Linked DNA regions of Homo sapiens: region 2 is linked to region 1. The links are contacts of gene promoters, found by promoter capture Hi-C in blood cells and fetal thymus (Javierre and others, 2016). All regions are on one chromosome and are shown on one strand. Each heading gives the region's core, a stretch centred on a gene start or on the middle of the fragment in contact. The rest is flanking DNA. Distances are from core to core; before and after follow the strand shown.

Evidence for each region. The method cuts DNA at HindIII sites, captures the fragments that hold promoters and counts their contacts. A CHiCAGO score of 5 or more calls a contact.
Region 2: a contact is called between a fragment that was not itself captured here and the fragment with the promoter of PLAG1 in region 1, in 1 of 17 cell types (non-activated CD4 T cells). The highest score is 5.6, in non-activated CD4 T cells.

Annotation. Positions count from the first base shown.
Region 1 is chr8:56,205,791-56,212,522 of GRCh38, forward strand. PLAG1 (PLAG1 zinc finger) reads right to left here and starts at 5,483. Exons shown (of 5, transcript NM_002655.3): 1 at 5,331-5,483. It overlaps CHCHD7 (coiled-coil-helix-coiled-coil-helix domain containing 7), which reads left to right and starts at 5,999. Exons shown (of 4, transcript NM_001011671.3): 1 at 5,999-6,047. RefSeq lists silencers at 846-1,046, 5,468-6,027, 5,870-6,095 and an enhancer at 6,108-6,177. The HindIII fragment of the contact is 9,849 bases long and covers 1-6,732 here.
Region 2 is chr8:81,713,783-81,720,707 of GRCh38, forward strand. It overlaps ZFAND1 (zinc finger AN1-type containing 1), which reads right to left. Exons shown (of 8, transcript NM_024699.3): 2 at 4,400-4,442; 3 at 3,467-3,506; 4 at 1,205-1,332; 5 at 1,022-1,113; 6 at 136-257. Among named protein-coding and RNA genes, the nearest start is that of ZFAND1, 4.1 kb to the right of the region's middle. RefSeq lists an enhancer at 6,552-6,925. The HindIII fragment of the contact is 1,170 bases long and covers 4,958-6,127 here.

The DNA.
Region 1 (6,732 bases), core at 4,233-6,732:
TAAATGTAAGGAAATATTTTAAGCAAATTTCTTGTCCTATTAACCTAGGACATACTGCATAAGTTCATTCATTCTACACATGCACACACATTTTTTAGGTAGTCATCTCAAATTCCCAGCACACACTGTGGTTAGTTTTAATACCATGATCCTGTAGTAACTCTGTTTATAAGACATCCAGGGACTTTTAAATACTAACAATTTTAATGCAGCATAACACTACCTTTTTAAAAAAATAAGATATTTCTGTTTTATAAAATTTTTAAATGTTCTGATAAGCATTTTTTTTTAAGAGCAAAATTCTTAACAACAAACACCAATACATACACAAAATCAGAAAACAAAAATACCCAAGTGCCCTTGGAGGTTCCACACCACCATATCCTTGTCAGTACCACCCTGTAAAGAGGAGGCAGGGATAGCTATAAACAGTGAGTATAATGCAAACCTCTGGACAGCAGACTAATCGATTTAAAAGTAAAAATCAAATTATGTCCCTGTAATAATTTCTACTAGGCTTTCATACACATACATTTCTTACAACTTCAAATGTTAATAGCTCAATACTTTTATAAAATGTTATAATCTAAAAATCTTAATTTAATTTCTCAAATTTTACAATGAAATTTGCAAATAAGATATAAAAGTTAATCTAACATAAATGAAAAGTAGTAACAGTGGATTTTAGGTTTGAGCATTTCAAAAAATTTAGGCAATAAAATACAAAAAGCAAAAATTAGTTACCTCCAAAGTAGTCTTACGGTAAAATAGAAAAGAATTCCCATGCATGAATTCTAAAATCAGGTTAACTTTACAGCTAATCAATCTGATTTACCCTGCATTCATATTTTACTTACTTGTAAATACTTTTCCATGACTACCTAAACACTTACTAATTGGTTAAATATGCTACCTATATTAATTCCTGGTAGAACTAAAGAAACTAAAGGTCTACCTTTGTTTTTCAGAAGTGACTGATATAGTTTCAAAGTATTCAATGTTTCAGAAAAGGTGTTTATCAGGTTCTTAAGACATTTAAAAATGGCTCAAGGGATGATTTATAGCCCTTTTACCTTGATCATATTCACTACCTTGGATTTTGTTGAACAGATTCAGTTTCCTCCTTTTGAAACTCTTCCCTTACTCAAATAATTAAAGAATCTAAGATGTTATCAATATAAAGAGAAAAAATTAATATTTATTTCTTATACACTTGCAAACACACCAAAAAGAATATGTATTCCAAGCAATGTAAGTAAGTTTCTTCAGTAAAACTTTTTTTTCCTTGGGGATGTGTGTAACTGGTAATTTTTTATATATCTTAATTTTCCAAAGAACAGGATTCTAAAGAAAAAATATTAAAACATTCTTAGATAAAATTATTTTGACTACACAGCTCAAGAGGCAAATGATTACTGAAACAAAACTTCAAAGATAGCTATAGATATATGTTTTAGTTATCTGGCTTTCCAAATCTCACTTAAGACAGGAGCATCACATTTAATTTAGGAAACAACAAATTTAATCCTTAGAAAGGAAAATTTGCAGAATATCAAACCAAAATGTACATAGTGACAATCAGGATTACATTAAAAATGAAGGAATAACCCCCACCTGTGCATGTTATTAAAACACAAACAGCACCCTTCAAATTTTAAAACTATACTGATAAAGCAAATTCACTAATTTATTTTGCTATAAATATCTATTTACTATTTACTAAAATATTTTGGTAATAATATACAGATATAGAATGTGTCAATATTAGCCCACACTTATAAATCTTCCACAGCAGATAAATTCTTTATAGAATTTCAAGTAGCAAAAGTAGGCATATAAATTTCAAATAAGACTATCAATATATGAGGTTTCTCCGATTCCAACTGAAATAAAGATTTTGACTACACAATATCATGACATTATTTCTGTATACTGGTATAATTTAATAGCTTCAGAAAAGGATGTTCAACAGGTAGTATTTCTAAGGCATCACAAAAGCTCAGTACAATCACTTCAAATTAAATATTGTGCTGTGCCCCATCTAAATAAGACTCTCTAAGCGATTACAGATTTTAGATTGGTGCACTCTGAGTGCGTTTTCTGAACAGACAAGTAGCTAGTTGCATAAAATACAAACATGAAGAAAGTTTTACACCACCCTATATGAGAGGAAGAAAAAAAATCACAATACCAGCACTTTTATTTAGATTGACAATAAACCAGTCATAGTGTCCAAACAACCTGAATAACACGATAATCTAATATAACTTGAATTCCTTCATTTTTTTATAGAGATTGAATTTATTGATATTAGTATCTGGTTTGTCAAAGTGGCAATTATTCAAGATCTAAGTCTCATTTATTTTAAATGCACAGCATAATTCTGACTACTTATAGTCAATGTAACTGTCTTGAGCCAAAATACAATGAAAACGTAAGATAAAATGAAAAGGCTTTGTAAGTCTTAATGGCATTCTGAAACCTCTGGACAGAAGATCATTGGGCATGGAGGAGTTTCCCTTCTCTATTGATAGCTTAATCCTTTTCCAATCAATTTTGATTTAACTGTGGGTGATGAGATTAATCTTTTAATGAGTTCTTAGAAAGTTGTAATTGCTTCCAAAATCAGAAACCACAAGATGATGTACTCAAACACGTTACTGATGTGATGTTGTATAGAGGTATTTACAGAAAGTTGGAAGAACTCAGTTGTAAACACAAGTTAACATACAATAGACTACAAAAATAATAACTTGTTTATACAGTAGGGCAAGAAAAAACATTCTATATAAGAAGTCTAAAAATTCAGCTCTAATTTTAATCCATGTCTATAAATAATAAAAACAAGAGGAAATAAGGATTTATTTCAGAAACTCCATATACCTGTGGAAAATGGAACACAAGTAATTTCTACTGAAGATTAACCTTAATCCCCATTATAGTACAGCTAACAATTTACACATTTTAAATTTTGAAAATATCGTGGAAATCTAAAACATAAGAGCCGATAGTAGTTTATGGTCAGTAAACACTTTCTGTTAAATAACACAAATAAATTCAACTTAGAAAATGAAAACTCACAGGGCTCAGGATTTTAAAAATCTTTTCATTTCAAAGGCGCAAAGTTACAACCCATGCATAGGATGGACTTTAAAAATGGATGTGTAAACTTTTCCATGGTGTTGGTGTGTGTGCTTTCCTTCCCCCTAAAGAAATGCCTACTGCTTACAATTTTAAAGAATCTTCACCACTCTGTAATTTTCAACCAGAAGTCCTCAATGTACCTTAAGCCAAATTGAATATTAAGGTATTTTACAGTTTTTACAAAATGGCTGTAAAATCACATTATGGGCATACACAGCTCTTTGATCTCACTGCACAGAATTCATAACTGTTCAATAATGCTATACCATTACACCACACACCTTAAACTATTTCCATTTTTCCACAATTCCTTCCAAAATCAGCTTCCAAAGCAAAGCAATGTAACATGAAAAGTTCCTGGGAGGGCTTGTTACACAAAGGAACAGTTTGGATACAAACTATACACATATCCATCTTCGGTTGAGGCTGTTTATCCCTCCTGTCCCTCCATCACTCCTATGGGTGGGTGCACTGGAGTAACAGAAAGGGAAGGCTCTTCCATCACCACACCCTCCCAGCACCTCTGCTTTTGGTCCTCAGACAGTGATTCTGTGTAGGTGATGAAAACCATAAGAAAAGAGAAGCTGTCCCTTTAAAATGCCCTGCTCTGTCCCATATCCCACGTGGAACCAACATCAGCAGCACTTTCCCATTAACATCAATGTGATGCAAGAGACATCATCCTTTTATACACATAAAACCAGAAAACCTCAGCTTAACATTCTTTAGGAAGGATGAACAGGTGAAGCAAACATGTCAGGAAGGGGGAAACCAAGCAACTCCACATCCCTCCCCAAAAGGTACTCCAGCCTTGCACTCCAGCCTCTCTGAGCACCATCACCTCTCTATCCCTCCTCTGCAGAGCCCAGTTTAAAGAAAGGAGGGAGCCACTAACAAAACCTGAAGCATAAATGCGACGAAAATGCAATCTAAAGCCGGAAAGGTTCATTCTTCCAATCACACATATTAACTCTATTAAGAAAATGGCATCACTTTTTTTTCCACCCAAAAAAACCCCGCAAAGATCATTAAAAGAGAGTTATAAAATAGCAAATATAGTGTTTATCTTATCTGAGATCAGTCCACATTACCAATAAGTTTAGCAGTTTCTGCACTACCACCTCCCCCCTCGCTCCCCCTGCTTCTCTTGCATCGGATTTTCACGTTTTCTCATTGTCGGTTGAGTTATAAAAGGCTTTTGCCCTTCGAAAGTTTTAAAAAATAAATAAATATTAACTCCTTGGTCCCTGCAAAGTCAAAATGGACTTCAGGGGAAAGGCGGTACATACTTTTACCTTTAGCGAGAAAAGGGGGAGCATCCCGGATTTTTAGGGATTTTTTGCGATTTTTTAAAAATTTTTATTTGGTTATATGCCTGAGTTCTCCCTCCATTTTGGTTGTTTATGATACTGACAACAAGCTGTCCCTGCTCTGTGCCGATCTCCTGCTTTCATTTAGCACCCCCTCCCCCTACCCCCCCTCGCAGCCACACACCCCGGGCTCACACCTCCCTGCAGACCCCGCACCCCGACCCCGGCTTGCCCACCTGAGGAAAGGGCAAAAACAAATTCATTTCTCCAGAAAAGAAAAACCTCTTTTGAAAAAGGGGCAAAGTTACCCCAAGTCACTCAAAGTGCCCCCCAAATATTGCCGACTGCGGGTTTCCGCCAGGCCCTTTGGGAAGCGACCTTCCCCCGGGATGTTTTGGTGGAAAATGCGGAGAGTTTACTCTCAAAACTGAATTTATATTAATTTTTCCCTTATTTTTCGGGTCTCTAATGTCTTCCGCTCTCGCTGCTGCCGCTGCCGCTGTCACAATATTCACAGCACCAGAGAGGAGGAGGAGGAGGAGGAGGAGGAAAACTTTTCAAACTTTCCAGACCCTGAATAAAGGTTTTTTTTTTTTTCCCACCGACCTCACCTTCGGGTCCCCAGCCGCATCGCCCCCTGCCCTGTCAGAAGCGACTTCGGGAGTCCTCGCAGCCCCGCGTAATTATTTTATTTTATTTTTTATTATTATTTTTCTCTCTGGGGTCCTGAGCAGGGGCTGAGAGTAGCACAAACTTTTCCTCCTCCTGCCGCCGCCGCTGCTCCTCTGCCCCCTCGGCTAGTCCCATAATTTAAATAACCCTGATATTTCTCCCGCTAAACGCCTCGCCGCCGCCCCGGACCCCCGGAGAACTCACCGCGGGGCTTTAACATCCTCCCTCCGGCCCGTCCGCCGCCTCTACACCGCCCGCGGAATTTCTAATAATTTTTTTCTCATATTTCGGGCTGGACGCGGCGGGCCTGGAAATTGTTTCCTTACGCCTCTTTCCAGCAGCCATTGTAGTGTATGCGCTGCCCCTGCAGCCCAACTTGCAGCTGCCGCCGCCGCCGCCGCCGCCGCCGCCGACGTCGCGCCCACCGCTGCCTCCCCCTGCCTGTTCGGCCACCGCCCCCGCCTCCCGTCGGCCCGCCCCCAAACCCCGCCCGCCGCTGCGCCCGCCCCCCGCGCGCGCTCCGCCCGAGAGCTGGCCACTCGGAGCCGCCGCTGGCGGGAGTTGGCCCGCCCATTGGGCCGCGACGCCGCCCGTCAAGCCGAAGTGTTAAGAGACGGGCCGCGGCTGGGGGGCGCGGTGGGGCGGGGGAAGAGGGGGCGGGGTCGCGCTCACCGCCCCGCCCACTCCTCCCGCCTCGGCCCTCCTTTCGCCAGGCGGGGGCGGGGCGAGGCCCGACCGCCCCTGCGGCCCAGGGCCCCGCGCGGCTGTCAGTCTGGCGGCGGCGCGCGCCGATTGGGCGGGCTGCCGCCGGGGAGCGGGGGCAGCAAGTTGGGATGCGCGCTACTTAAGGTCCTGCTGCGTGAGCCATTGACGTGTTTGGAGCTGGAGACGGCCTGGGTGCTGGCGAAGCGGAGGCCGGAGGTGAGTGGTTCCCCCGCCCTACCTCCGAAGCGGCCGCAGAAAAGCGGGGAGAGAGGGGTGCCCTTGGGCCGTAGCGGGGCCCGAATGCACTTCTGCGGCGCGGAGGCGCTCCCGCCAGGCTTCGCCGCAGCGCGGACCTCTTCCCGTTGCTCTTCCTCCCGCCACACGGGTCTGTTCGCTCCGGGGGCGAGGAAGATGACCTCTGCCTAGTCCGGGCAACCCCAGCTCTTCTTCCACTCTCCTGTGTAGCCTCTGAAGCGCAGTTACCGGCCCCACCCCCAGTTCCCTGCGTTTTCCTCGCCCCTTGTCTCTCTCGGCATGGTCTCGGCACAGCAAGGTGTGTTCACCTGTGCGCGCCGTCCAGGATCAGATGCTGACGGGCTACACCGCGGAAGGCGGCGAGGCCTCGGGTTCGCCCTTCGTTTCTCCTTGCCCTGCGCGCCCACCTCCGGCAGGCCACCCTTGACTTCTTGCCCCCTTCCACTTTGCACCTGGCAGTGGGTTAACGGCACGGCGTGTGCAGCTTCCGGGTTTAGCAGAGCCGCGGACCCTGCCTGGGCTCCGACCACGGGGCGTGTGGGCATGAACGTGTTCAGAAACGTTTCCTTCCCCCTGCCCTTTCAAAGCTACTTAGAGAGGGGGGACGTGAACCACTGGATGGGAAATCAGGAACTGCTTTATTAAG
Region 2 (6,925 bases), core at 4,293-6,792, about 26 Mb after region 1:
AGACATATACCATGCAACATTAAGAATGATACATACCAGGTTTAGGTTAGTTGTTAATTGATGGGAAGGAGGAATACAAAGAGGACTTCAACTATATTTGAAATTTTTGTGTTTTAAAAAATCTCTAAGACCAACCTGTGGTAATGACTTATCGCCATCAGCATGCATCTTTAATTTCATCAATGCAACCTTTGCAGCTGTTTCACTATTTTTGGCACCTTTCCATCGTTTACTTGCTGTTTCTCCTGTCTTGGAATCTAAGAAGTGTAAGCATGTAATCACATAAAACTTTCACATTACAAATAGAATTTTATTATAATACACTTATTAATTATGGCTCAGAAACATATATAAATTACACACAAGAGAGATATACAGAGACCACATTCATTGTATAGGTATTGTATTTACATTGTCAATGGAAAAATATCATTGAGATTGATCTAGGCAATCTCCACATCAAAAAATCCACTATAATGTGCTTCTTTTCAACTTAAGCCTATTTAACCTAAAGCAGTCATTAATGCTTCTACAGACAACCTTAAGATTTGGTTATGCAAGATTGTAATAAAGGTACTATCCTTAATATGGAATAAAAATTCTGAGCTAACATACTGGCAGGCAGACTGATTTAAGTCACAGATACATTCATTCCTGGTATCTCTTATTATCAGCAGCATTCACAGAACAGCTGACTAGGCTTAGAGTTTAATCTGTAGAGAAAGCAGCTGACTACTTCAATCTCATGAATACCATTTCTAGCCCAATGGTTAACTAGCTAATCTAAGTGGCTCAGCAAAAGAGATAAGTACTTACAGTGGAGTACCTCCAAATAATTTCCAAATTTCCATCGGTCAGGTAGACCTCATAAGAAATACTGTCACAAGAATATCATCAAAATACAAGTTAATACGAATACCACTGGGGTTATTAATGATGCCTCCCATAATTGGAAAGTAGATATAAGAAGCAGGAGCTCTGGAACTAGGAAAGCAACAAAACACGCTTTCTAGATACTTACCAATAATGTCTTTAACAAGTTTCTGAGTGGCAGCCATTCGAGGCTTTGGGATTTCCAGTTTTTCACACTCATGATCTGACTGATGACGGTGTCTATGAGCAACAGAAGAGTGACACTAGTTCATGTGTTTGTATAGCACTTAAACAGATATACAAAGTGTGAACAGCCTAAGTGATCAATCACCTCAGGCAAAAATTCTTCTCACAATAAGGACATATAACTGCCACAAGTTCTCTCTCAGCACAGTCTTTGAAAGAGCATGGGTAAGATGTATGTTGATCTGTCTTCAGTCTCTCATTGATTACAGTCACCTGAAAATGCAAAAAGGAGGAAATGTATTACATTTCAGACCTAAAACAAATCAATGTGTCTTATTCTAGAAGGCAGTATTCATTTTATTTTTGCTTAAACTTATTAGAGCAAGTTACTTACTCTCAAAGATTATAAAGAATGTTTTATGTGACAAATGATTACTATACTGACTGTTCCACACTTTCATAATTTTCCTACTGTGGTATATTTGTCTTCTAAGTCAAGTTGAAATGACTATTTAATTACGCTCTATAATTTTAACCTGCTTTGTAACAGTCTCATACAAAGGTGCCCCTATGATATGCTCAGGTAATTATCTCATCAACCCTCAAATGGCAAGTCAACCTAATTTCCACACTAATTTTAGGAGATGAAACACTTAACTCAGAGAATAAAACACTTAAAAAATATTTATTTATTTGTGAGATAAAAGGTTAAAGACGGTTTTCATAATCATATATTATTCTCTATGCCCTATTTCATATTTTTATTACCAGCAAATACTCCACTACAGGAAGAAAGATTTTATAAGACTAAAAAAAAAAAAAAATTCTAAATCAGCCAGGCTATTCTGAGCATTAACAAACCAGGTTTCTAAAGACGAGTAAACGTAGGGAAATAATTGCTTGAAAACTACAACCAAAGGGAATTCCTTTTTATAAATAATAGTTACACCTTGTTGGAATTAATTTAAGTATCTTTTTGAACTTGTTGCAATGGCCTAATGATGTTTCAATATTTAATTAACGAGACCTAATTATCTGAGACACATTCAGAGGAATCAAATTATATCCTAAGAAAAAAGAAAACACAGGATAGATTTATAAACTGCAAGAAACTTCAGTAAGTTTTATTGTATGACTGAATATTTCCTCCAATTAATGCTGCATAAAATCAACATGCTAGGTAATTCAAATTTTCCTCAAATAGATCACGTAAACTTCAAAGGGTCAGATTTTGACTGATCATTTAAACTGGAAAGAATCAGATTTCAACTGAACCTCATGTAACTTTAATAACTTTCTATAACTGAGAGAACAGATGTGAAAATATTTGGTAAAGCACTTGGTAAATGGTGGGCAGGAATAAATGTCCACTGAAAAGTGTTAGAACACATTGAACATGGTGGGCTTAGCTTTCTCTCTTCCTCTTGGAACTGTACTGCCTTCAGGGAGAAAGCCTAACCTGGTCCAGTACTGCTGTGACTGCTGGGCAAGTCTGCCTAATTCTGGATATTCTTTGCAAACCCATTTGCTCTATGCTGAACTTCATCATTCAACTTATCTTTACCAGTAATAAGGGTAATATTTTGACTTCTATTTGCCAGACCTTTCTTAACTTATGATTTGTGCAAAATTAGGGTAGGAATTTTATTAAACTATAGGTTTCTTCCTGGTTGTCTTAAGTCGACTGAGCCAGAATGATTTACTACCACAGATCCTATCAGCAGGCATCAGTGAAAATGAACACAACAGTGAAGGACACAGTGAACTGGAGGGAATATATAAGGAGGACATTAACTTACGTGTATATTTATAAATATATAGCCTTGGCTGGGCGCGGTGGCTAACACCTGTAACCCCAACACTTTGGAGGCCAAGGCGGGTGGATCACCTGAGGTCAGGAGTTTGAGACCAGCCTGGCCAACATGGTAAAACCCCATCTCTACTAAAATACAAAAATTAGTCGGGCGTGGTGGCACGTGCCTATAATCCCAGCTATTCGGGAGGCTGAGCCAGGAGAATCACTTGAACCCCGGAGGCGGAGGTTGCAGTGAGCCGAGATCGTACCACTGCACTCCAGCCTGGGCAACAAGAGCAAAACTCCATCTCAAACAAAACAAAACAAAACAAACAAATAAATAAATATATAGCCTTATACTGTAAGTGGGCTACCTAAACAAATGTTAAGGAATAAAAATTATGAGGATAAAAATTTACAAATACCAAGTAAAACAATTTTTCTTTCAAACAAAGAAAAATAATATAAATGAAGCAAAAGCCTCTTTACCTAATCAGTTTAGTATGCCAAACTTTAATCTGTGATACTGACTGCCTTTAAATCTAATCAAATTCTGAATGAAAGTACATAAATACGAATACATTTTATCAGATTGGAAAAATACTAACATACCTCAGGACAACCATGAGACTCCCTGCTTCTGTGTTCAAGGCTTAAATAATAATAGCAAGTGTTTATTTAAATAACATACTTAAAGATAACTGCAGAAATTTGCGATATTTTAATGTTCAGTATACTTAAGATACATTATGCTCATACTACATTAATAACTTTGAATATGAGAAAAAACTGAAATGTCAGATAAAGATGGAGCATCTATAGTCTCAAAAGTTTTAAAACACAAATGTTCAACTTCAATATGAGTAAAAACAATTCACCACCCTAAATTACGTTTACGTTGCATGAAAATATAAACATATCTTTCAGCTCTTTTTATTTCTAAAAGATCATCAGTAGTAAAATGTGAAAAGTGCTCTAATTCCAAATAATTTAAAAATATACATTACTTTTATTTACTTCCAACAAATCATTCTGAATTACATTCTGAAAAAAATTCATTCTTTCAGTGCTCTATTTTATAATTTAAATGCTTGACATTTTAAAGTTTAACTGTAAGGAAAATCCATTTTCCAAAATTCTTCATTAATTCCCAGGTTTTACTTGGCATGTAATGTAGTCAAATGCTGTGATTCCTATTTTAAGGCATTTATAGGTTGGGCTCTTTTCATTTTATTAATTAAAATAAAGAGCAATAATTATAACTGGATCTTTACCATATTCTTTATATTGTGAATATTATTTTCTCCTTGTAATTAAAAGACAAAAATATAACTTTTATATAAAATTCACATACATAACCCCACTTTTGGAAGTTTAAAAATCAGTCATATATATGGAGAAGTAATCAGAGTCTATAACTATACTGAATATCAATAATCAATGGCTAAAGTAACAATTATTTTAAATCATTCTACTTTTCAGAAATAACCTCATATTAATAAACACTAAAATTACTCCCAAATCCTGCATAAAAACTTAACTTACCAAAATATTCCTGAACAATCATCACACACAAATGGAAGAAAATCTAAAATTGAGAGAAAATGTATATACTGGTCAGTATCTGATTTTGATTTAGTTTTCTTAAGCAAGAAGACAACCTCTATGGAAAAACTTCCCATTTTGACTAATATCCTAGTGTAGCAAGCACTATGTAACCACTCTAACAAAATTAATCACAACTTCAATAACTGACAGAAAGTAATTGGATTAACATAAGGTATTAATAGATGTTACTTGTAACTTTACTAAGTCAGACAAAAATAAGTTCTAGTGGTTTTCTTTTTCTTTTTTGTTTTGTTTCCCAGATTTACTAGGTGTTGTTTTTGATGACTGTATACTGCAAAAATTCCGCATTTGGAGTGAAAAACCTGGGATTCAATTCTGATTCCACTGCTTACTAATCTAACAGTGCTAGGCAAGTTACTTAACAGTAAAACTTTGGATATATATATTTTTATATATATCCAATAAATATATATATTTATATCTGTGTACTAATATATATGTGTGTGAACAACATATATATATATATATCGCCAAAGCTTGACTATATTCAAATATATTTATATTTATATATACACCTATAAGATTTATGGTATTTCAAATATATATAATTTGATGTAATATATAGTACAGTTAGTATAAAGTATATGTGTGTGTGTTTCTATATATGTATGTAAATAAACATATACAAAACCAAAGCTCTTTTATTGGGTAAGAAAAATAGAAAGATATAGACAGGTAGATACAGAGACAGATATAAAGATACAAGCACATCCTTTCTGTGTATATATGTATATGTGTGTATGCATGTGTATCTATATCTGTATCTATGCTGTATGCCACACCGACCTCACAGTGTACTTACAGAAACCAAATGAGATATATATGAAAGATCAGAATAGTAATACAGTAACTATAATTAATAAGAATAATACAACAATTAACTTCTTTTGAGTATACTCAACTCAGAACAGTACTGCAAGGGGCCAGGCACAGTGGCTTAAGCCTGTAATCCCAGCACTTTGGGAGGCCGAGGGGGGCGGATCACCTGAGGTCAAGAGTTTGAAAACAGCCTGGCCAACATGGCGAAACCCCATCTCTACTGAAAACACACACACACACACACACACACACACACACACACACACACACAAATTAGCTGGGCGTGGTGGTTCATGCCTGTAATTCCAGCTACTCAAGAGGCTGAGGCAGGAGAATCGCTTGAATTCAGGAGGCAGAGGTTGCAGAGGGCCGAGATCGCGCCACTGCACTCCATCCTGGGTGACAGAGCCAGACTCCATCTCAAAACAAAACAAACAAACAAACAAAAAAGGACAATACTGCAGTGACTGGGTGGAGATGCTTAATATTTTGCGACTTTTAATAATCAAGTATTAGATGCAAACCAGAAGGACCCAGGGGAAAGAGTTAAGTCAAGACAACTTCCCAGCACCTGATACCATCCTTCAATCCCTCCAGAAGGTAGATAAAATTTAGGATATACACTTGACGTAGTCTAAATCTTAACTGCTTTCCACTAGTCCCAAACAGATAGGCCTGGCCTCATCTCAGTTATTGACACTAAAGACATATATAGCTGGAAAGGAAAATGAACTATGTCATGAATGGCATATAATGTGTATTGGACTCACTAGCGAAGGATCAGGCATAGACACACATAATTCACAGTCAAAACCCAAATGGCTAAGCTTCCACATGAAAAAAGTCACACTGGCTTGTTATTACAGCCAGTGGTGAAAGATAGATAGATAGATGGCTATAAGTAACAAGAACCTAGAAGGGATTGTGTCACCTGTCCTATCACGCATTCCCACAGTAGAAATCACTAATCAATTATGGAACTCCACTGAAACTGGGCTAAATCTCAAGAGTCTTTGACACGGTAATTCAGGCACTTGATACCAATGACTGAAGTTCCAAGGGGAGATTAAACCTGTTTGCTACCTTATGTAGTGTGTGAAACCTAGTAACAACGACTGAGCAGTCTGTGTGGTTCTAATGCTTCAAAAACTTGCCTTTTCAAGGTGTATGGCATCCTGAAGCCAATGCCACATCACCTTGGACTAGGTATATCCCAAGGTCTCTCAGTGCAATGGGGAGAGCCCATTGCCATATTATTAACTAATTCTCTCTAAAATGCAGCTTACTAGTTGGAAAGGTCTTCCGTGTAAAAGACTGTAGTTTACACCCTTATGTGGTCCAAGCACCAAAATCAATAATCTGTAAATGTTTGTTCAAACAATAATAATGAGAATCAGGGAATGACAGAGCTGGGAGAGCATGATGACCATTTGGTGGAATAATCTGAGGATCAGGATGCCTTTGAGAATTTGATAAAAGCTAAGGAAGGGCCTTCTTCCGGACACACATCCACGTGAACACTAGTTGGGCGAGTTGACCTCCCCCAACTCCTCCTGACAGCTACGTAACAGATAAGTAAAAAAAAGTATGGGAAAGTAGCTGGCCGTAGGTCGCAGTGGCAAA